2 separate regions of the Homo sapiens genome follow, and region 1 is linked to region 2. Evidence: promoter capture Hi-C in human tissues and cell types (Jung and others, 2019). All regions are on one chromosome and are shown on one strand. The core of a region is centred on a gene start or on the middle of the fragment in contact, and the rest is flanking DNA. Distances in the headings are between cores, read along the strand shown.

The links. Contacts are between HindIII fragments. The study calls those that stand out against the background at their distance.
Region 1: a contact is called between a fragment that was not itself captured here and the fragment with the promoter of FGF23 in region 2, in 2 of the 25 tissues and cell types used here (bladder and pancreas).

What each region holds. Positions count from the first base shown.
Region 1 is chr12:4,530,930-4,535,363 of GRCh38, reverse strand. FERRY3 (FERRY endosomal RAB5 effector complex subunit 3) reads left to right here. Exons shown (of 14, transcript NM_020374.4): 3 at 1,062-1,207. Among named protein-coding and RNA genes, the nearest start is that of FERRY3, 5.3 kb to the left of the region's middle. The HindIII fragment of the contact is 5,337 bases long and covers 1-4,434 here.
Region 2 is chr12:4,376,891-4,380,990 of GRCh38, reverse strand. FGF23 (fibroblast growth factor 23) reads left to right here and starts at 1,279. Exons shown (of 3, transcript NM_020638.3): 1 at 1,279-1,619. The coding sequence starts at 1,409. The HindIII fragment of the contact is 10,071 bases long and covers 1-4,100 here.

The DNA.
Region 1 (4,434 bases), core at 540-3,039, 150 kb before region 2:
TTTAGCAGCAACAGCATCACCTGCAAGCTTGTTAGACATGCAAATTCTCGGGCTGCATCCCATTTCTGCTGAATCAGAAACTAGGGTAGCATGTGGCAGTCTGTTTAAATAAGGCCTCCAGGGGTTTCTAATGCACACTTAAGATTGTGAACCACAGTCTAAAGTCGCGAACATAGTGATAATAATAGAGCCAAAGCCAGAACACAGGTGTCCTAACTTCTCTCTCAGTGCTCTTCCGTTATATCATTCTCTAAGTGGTGTCTGTAAAACTGAAATCGGTCAGTCATCTAAGTTAAATGTGTTAATAAGCTAGTCATTTAACTTCTCTTTCAAAGGATGTAACAATGTACCCTTTAAAGTTACATGGAAAACTCTTTTTAATGTAAATACAGTAATGTTCAGACCTTCAAAATCTGTAGCATTTTCTTTATGTCCTTATACCCACTTGGCTTCAAACTGAAATATCAGGCTTAAGAAAGTAACATTACTTTATTAGTATCAAGGGAATACGTAAGAGTTAAGACTTTTGACCTTTCTCTATGCAATAGCCTGTAATAGTAAAGGAAAATAATCATGAAATTAGTTAAATGATCCCCTAAGCTGATTTCATTTTAGTTGGAGATTCTATTAAGAGTATCAGCTTGATAAAATAAAATTTCATGTCTGGGCAAGGTGGCTCACACCTGTAATCCCAGCACTTTGGGAGGCTAAGGCAGGTGAATCACTTGAGCTGACGAGTTCAAGACCAGCCTGGGCAACATGGTGAGACCTATCTTTACCAAAAATACAAAAATTAGCCATGCATGGTGGCATGCACCTGTGGTCCCAGCTACTCGGGAGGCTGAGGTGGGAGGATCACTGGAGTCCGGGAATTCAGGGCTGCAGTGAACTGTGATCATGCCACTGCACTCCAGCCTGTGTAACAGAGAGAGAGACCCCATCTCTAAATAAAAAATAAAAATTTAACAATAAGATTTCACATTGGAATTCTCAGCCAAGTAAAATGTTCCCTATTTATACCTGGATTTTGCTGACGATGGTGTTTGATGTCCCTGTAACAGACTTAAAAGAAGCTCTGACTCAGTTTATAGAAGAAGAATCCCTCAGCGATTATGATAGAGATGCTGAAGCATCCCTGGCAGCTGTGAAATCAGGTGAAGTAGATTTACATCAGCTGGCGAGTACATGGGCCAAAGCTTATGCTGAGGTAAGAAAATAGGTCAGATTGTAAATTTCAAGGATATTCTGGATTTTGGTGAAAATTTTTAAAATGCTGTGGTAATCCTGAAATCGTTATAAGATCCTTTTTCTCCACATACAATATTCTATAATGTATATGTTGCTGCTTCTGTGCTTCCTATATCAGGGTGAGCACATAAGACAAAATGCTATTTATGTAATACCTTTGTAAAACAAGAGGCTACTTGCATATATCTCACCAGCACAGGGTCTCCAGATTTAGTAATTAAAAATATAGGACACCCAGTTAAGTTAGAATTTCAGATAAATGAATATTTTTTAGTATATCAACATATTACATGGAACATATTTATACTAAAAAAAATTGTTCACTATTTATCTGAAATTCTAATTTAAGTGAGTGTTCTGTGTTTTATCTGGCAACCCTAAATCAGCAACAGCATTCATGTAACCTTTGGTTTACTTTTATAAACTTATCTTCATTATTGTTGTGTAGTCACATCATATCATTTTCTATTTAAATAATATACCCTGTTTCATAAAGTCTAAGATGCCATTAGGTATATCACAAATGATTTTATTTACTAAGAAAGAGCACTGCAAATTAAACTATGAGAGAATGCCAAGATGACATCAAGTATAAGAGGCAAAGAAAAGACTCAAAAATATCCATTGTATTTATCAAGTAATCTTGTCTGTGGCAAGATCAGTTTCGGTAAGTTGGTGGTGGTGGAAATGAGATTTCACTGACTCTAAGCATGTGGGAGTGTGGAAATAGGAAGAATTAGTATACTAACTGAAGAAGTTCGAATATAAAGAGGTGAAGGATGGGGCACTGGCTAAATGGGAACACAAGGTCAGAGGTTTGTTTGTTTGTTTTTTAAGGCGGCAAAGTTTAGGACTAGAAGGGATAGAATCCAGAACTCAAATGGAGAATTAATCATAACTGGGAAGACAGATGCTTCTCCACTTACAGCCAAAGAGAAGCAGGAAAGGTTGGATATAAATTCAGATAATTTTATTAATTTGGTAGCAGGAAGTTGAGAATATTCTCTTCTGAGTGTTTCAACTTTAAGGAAAGACAGGTTATTTGTTTAGATGAGGCAGTAGGTATAAAAAGATTGTTGGATATTTAAGGAGAAAACCGAGCAGCGAATGATAGGATTGCCAGGCATCATTGAGGCCAAGATTAAGAGTGGCACCAGTTTGTCACCATAAACTTTATAGAGTTTTGTGATTTTTCTGCTACAGCTCTCTAAAGCCCGACTGCAGGCATAGAGAAGAGGAATAAGATGAGGGTTTTGTTAGGTGGGTAATATAAGGTACATCAGTCAAGGGAGTTGAGGATATCGGCAAGACAGTGGTTGAATGCTAGATCACAAAATGTAAGCTACATAGGGAAAGAAGTGAAGCTAAGTGGCAGTTGATGGCTGATTTAAAAAAAAATGAAAACATTGAGAAACTTATGAAGTGGAGGTCCTGATGAGGTTAAATATCAATTACCTGGGGATTATTGAGCGAGAAATCTTGGGTGGAGGTTGTAGTCAGAGACTAGAATGTTTGAATACTGACGGACTGAGTTTCTGGTGAGGATACTAAATGGATGGCTGAGGTGGTGTGGAGAACTAGTAAATGTTGCAGGTAAACGATGACTATCTGGGCTGGTGGTACAGGGGTAAAAGAATTTACCAAGACAGTTGTAGATAAAGAAAGGTAGGTTTATTAGAGAAAGTAGGAAAATATGTTGCGAGGAGGCAATGGGCAGGCCAACAGAAGAGAAGCTGACTTCAAGGAAACAAAGGCTTGCTGGAGATTTTATAGGACAGCGTTTATGCTGTATGCTGTACAGTGCTGTGTGCAGTACTGATAACCCCAAGACTGCAGTGAGCTGCAGTCTTGCAGCTATCTTGCAGGTGTCTGGTGAAAGGTGAGTGCAGGAGGGCTACGTGGCCTGGACCAGGGGTGTCCAATCTTTTGGCTTCCCTGGGCCACACTGGAAGAAGAATTGTCTTCGGCCACACATAAAATACATTAACATGAGGGATAGCTGATGAGCTAAAAAAAAAAAAAAAAAAAAATTCACAATTTATGAATTTGTGTTGGGCGGCATTCAAAGCCATCCTGTGCCACAGGTTGGACAAGCTTGGTCTGGACCATGAGGAAAGGCAGACTTATAGCTTATCTGCTTTCTCTTTTTGCTTTCCCCTGGTCCTGCCAGCCTGATTCCTTTTCCCTAATTGGGACTCCACAGTAAAGATTGTAGAGTTCGGGAAAGTAAGAAGGCAGTGCCTTGGATGGGTTTCCACATGGATATCCAAGTAACCCAGGTTGATGGCAGGATGTGGGGCAGAGAGGAATTCTTTGAACTTGGTGCCAAAGCTTTACAGGAATGAGGGTGAGTGACAGACAGGTAGGTTGTTAGATAATGATGGCCATGAAAGATAAGGGGTGCTGAATGGTTTGAACCTCAAAGAAGTCAGGCGTTATGCCTGAAAGTGGAGGTGGAGAAATAATGGCCTGGACATTGAATCGCTTTCTCTCTGCAGTCACTTCCTCAGTGCCCCATTCCTCTCAGCCGTCCCAGTCCCCTTTCTAGTAGCATCTGTCCTGAGGGAGTGGCGTAAATTAGGTCAAGGAAAAACCTATGCTTAGTTCTTCTCACGTAGGTATCTTCTACCTATTCATAAAGCTTCCCCTAGGCTGAGTTTAAAATTAATGCTGCAGATTTTTGTAGTTAGATGATCTGGTAGTGGGGCTACTGAACATCTGGTGTTGTGTGTGGCCAAGCACATCCCTACAGTCTTACAGTAGCTCCTCCCTACAAAATTTCAACTTTGCCCTGAAGTGAATTTTAAACAGAAGTTAAGTCCCATAGGCTGGTTATAATTCCTACAGCAGTCGCACGTCTAAAGATGAACAGTTATCAGAACAGTTTTGGAGTTTCAGAGGCATAGAGTAGATGAAATCGTAGTTCTAGGTTCAGCTAGTCTCCTGCCTTTTGATGTGGCAACTGATTGAAGTGAAAGAGAACAAATTAGAAAAGTTTTCCTGTTGACTGACTGAGTTCAAGATAGCTGTTTATGTGATGTGTTTGTTTGTTTTAAGGTAAATTATTACTCTTAAGTCATATTATAAATTCCAGTTTTTAATATTTTCGTGGGTAAGAAAAGGGAAGAATTTAGTTTTTTTTTTTACAGGTATCTTTTGCAAAGATCTATAATGGAAAAAACATCA
Region 2 (4,100 bases), core at 30-2,529:
TATCTCACAGAGTGGCAGTGAGGTTCAAATAAGCTAATAGATGTGAAAATGCTTTGTAAACTATAAAAAAAAACTGTACAAATGTAGGGTAACAAATGCCATCTCTTTCTGTCTATACCTGTAAGCTTGCACTCATTTTGTATTATAGTTACTTATTTTTATCTGCCTCCTGCATTAGATTTGAGCTCCTCAAGATAGGAATCACATCTTGCTGTCTCCTATATCAACCTGTACATGAGTCTAGCTTGATGCCTGTACATGGCATATACTCAGTACAGGGAAACTGGAAGAATAGCAAACTCCTTGTGTGTTTTTTCGGGTGTGTGTTCCAGTAGCTTGCTCCCCTTTAGACTGTATGTGCCAGGACTATTCCACCCGACATCAGGTGTAGCTTCCCAGAGGGCTCACTGTGAACAGCATCTGCAGGCAGGCATCCAACACCAAGCTGAGCACTCATGTACAGACACTAAATGTGGGGACACCCTGTCCTGAGGCTCGGATCCCCAGTGCTCAGCCAGCAGCTGTTCCAATCCCCATGAGGTCTCTGAATGAGTCTCCTTACTACTGGAGAGACTACTAGTTTAGTTGCCCTCGATAGTCCAAACTAGGGAAATTGAGAAATTGAACCTTGGCATATTCAGTGAAGTCCAGACTAAGGAAGCTGAGAAACTGAACCTTGGCATGTTCACTGACCTCAAGGCCTTACTTCTTTTTCTTCCATTTCAAAATCTTCCCAAAATGGCAACTTTGGCTTTTGTGCCCCTGCTCCTAGCTCCCATCTTTCATGAAGTGGGTGTTCTTAGAGGATGCCATCTGCCTGATGGTGTCATGTATCTCTATATCCTGCAAGCTACCCACCAAATCCTGCTCACAGATTAAGCACTGGATACATACTTGCTGATTGGAATTTAAAGAAAACCAAAATAAGTAAACTCGACAGGAGATTAATTGCCTAGGAGTCGGTTGACTGCTTGACTGAAGCTGGATTTTTTTTGGGAACCGCTGGCTGCCTTCACATTTCCTGATGGAAGTGGGACAGGTCAACAGACAGCCCAGAGTGGCAGATAACTTTTGCCCACACGTCATTCATTTTTTGGAGCGTTGGCTTGAAATTGAGGGGTGTGTGTGTCTGGAACCGACGTGCCTTCCGTGCGCCTCCGGGGTCTTTGCACTTTCTTTCAATGGGCTGATTACAACACAGAGGATGTGGACAGTGGAGTTTTTCCTGTTTGATGTCACACTGCTACCCTTTAAAAGTCTGACGGCAAAAAGGAGGGAATCCAGTCTAGGATCCTCACACCAGCTACTTGCAAGGGAGAAGGAAAAGGCCAGTAAGGCCTGGGCCAGGAGAGTCCCGACAGGAGTGTCAGGTTTCAATCTCAGCACCAGCCACTCAGAGCAGGGCACGATGTTGGGGGCCCGCCTCAGGCTCTGGGTCTGTGCCTTGTGCAGCGTCTGCAGCATGAGCGTCCTCAGAGCCTATCCCAATGCCTCCCCACTGCTCGGCTCCAGCTGGGGTGGCCTGATCCACCTGTACACAGCCACAGCCAGGAACAGCTACCACCTGCAGATCCACAAGAATGGCCATGTGGATGGCGCACCCCATCAGACCATCTACAGTGAGTAGGGCTTCAGGCTGGGAAGAAGGGGAGCACCCTTGTTGTCCATCTACAGGAGGCTTGGGGAGGTTGGGGACTAGACTGGAGGGCTAATCCAACCCTCCTAGCTTTCTGCCCAGGAACCACTTATTGTCTTTGTGTGTGTGTGTGTTTGTGTGTGTGTGTGTGTGCGTGTGTATTTAAAACTTAGGGGAAGATTCTGTCACTCTCCTAATTAGCATTTGCTGGTTTTTCTCAATATGAATAATTTTTATTTCAACTAAAACCCTTCCCACAGTAGGAGCCATGTTCCCTTTGCCCCGTCAAAAGATTGAAAAAATGTACAGAAAGAAAGGCAAGGAGTCTAAGAGAAAAAGAAGCCAGGCAGATCAACAGACACTAAGTTTCAGCTCATGGACTTTGGACTGGGTTAACTAGGGAGGTTGTAAAGATTCCTGGGTCATACCCAGATTGTTATAGATAAATCTGGGGGCTCTTTCCAACTCTGGCCTTATAAAAATTCTTGGAAAAATGTATTAAAGACAGACTGTCCATGTATGTTGTCTTGGTGAGAATGGCCAAGTATACAACCCATCCACCCATTCATTTGTCCATGCATCCATCCATCCATCCATCCATCCATCCATCCATCCATCCATCCATCCATCCAACAGGTTTAATGGGTGTTTCAGACACCCAGGTACCCAGGTACCCAGTATGAGTTGGTGATTCTTCTCTGTGGAACTGAAAGGTGTCCAGTCAGTAGCAAGTCAAGCTAGTTAGAAACTTATTGGCAACATGAGACAACTGGAATGTTTTTAAAGATCAGGTTTGTGGAGAATTGGATCACAATCCACAATAATCAATCCATTAGCAATGATTCAAATGAGGGTCCCTTTGTGTGCACCTATATAAGGGGTAATGTGGTGAAAGCAGGGATAGATATTGAAAAAGACTGGATCTTCTATTTTAAGAAAACGTGAGAAAACACCTCAAAGCATACAGAAAAATGCAAACTGATCCAATATAGCTCAAATTAAAGGAAAGAAAAATTAGTTAGACAATCTCTAACTAAAGAAAACATAGGAATTATGATTTGCCCTTTATTGTTGTAATAAATAAATTAATTATTTTTGCTGTGACCTTGCTGTGTGTGAGGCATTTATTCTTCTAGGCTCCAAAGGTCCTTAAACCTGGTTGCAAGATATACAACATGCAAAATTAAGTTGCAAGATATATAACATGCGAAATTGACAGTTTAACCTCTTCAAGTACTAAATGCATATTGACAGGAGATAAAAGGAGAGAGGAAAGTTCTCTCCGAATACCAAACAGGTTCCAGAACTCCAGAGAATATAGTAAGACTCAGGAGTCAACATCTTGGAAACCAAGTTTGAGTCTCATGGCAAAAATTTCAATTAAATCTGGATACACTTGATGCACCCGAAGTGTTGTTCATTTTATTCAATGGATATTTAATAGGATCTACCATGTGCCTGGCATTCTACCAAGCGCTGTGGCTGAAAACTAAGACACAACCCTTCAAGGACCTCATGGTCTGTCGTCCTACCTTGTCAGCCAGCTCACTACCAGACTTTCAGGAAATGCAATTTTGCATGTCTCATGGAGGGGACACCCTTACTCTAATTCAAGACTATATGTGGGCCAGGTGTGGTGGCTCACGCCTGTAATCCCAGCACTCTGGGAGGCCGAGGCAGGCAGATCACGAGGTCAGGAGATTGAGACCATCCTGGCTAACACAGTGAAACCCCATCTCTACTAAAAATACAAAAAATTAGCCAGGCGTGGTGGCAGGCGCCTGTAGTCCCAGCTACTTGGGAGGCTGAGGCAGGAGAATGGCGTGAACCCGGGAGGCAGAGCTTGCAGTGAGCCGAGATTGCGCCACTGCACTCCAGCCTGGGTGACAGAGCGAGACTCCATCTCAAAAAAAAAAAAAAAAAAAAAAAAAAGACTATATGTGATTTAAAATGCAGAATAGTAGATTATGGTAAATTATTTTGATTCTCTTAGATGGAAAGGGCTGCATCCAACTAGAGAATGTTTATACAACTTGTCTCGAATCCTGGAATCCCGTTGCTGAAAGGAACTCCTTAAAGACGTTTCTTCCTGAACAAGAATTAGGGTAGAACAGAACAGGCCGGCTACGGTGGGGAGTGAGTGTGAAGAGTCAACCTCCTGGGCTGGCAGTCTGAACTTAGACCTTTTCCTTGAAAGCCCACCTCGTATCAGGCCCCAAGGGATCACTGAGTGCTAGTTAGAGTGAATTAAAATGACTGAGAAGCAGCAAAATAAATTGAACTGACTTCAGATTTTTAAAAATAGAAATGTGATTTTGTTTCCTTAGACATAGGCACTAGCTAAACATTGCATCTTTAAAGAGTTAAACATGAATGCGGGGAGGGGAACTTCGGGTCAGGGTAGTGGGAGGGAGATCTACTTTTCCTAGTCTATGTAGATAACTTTTTGTACTGTTCAATGAGT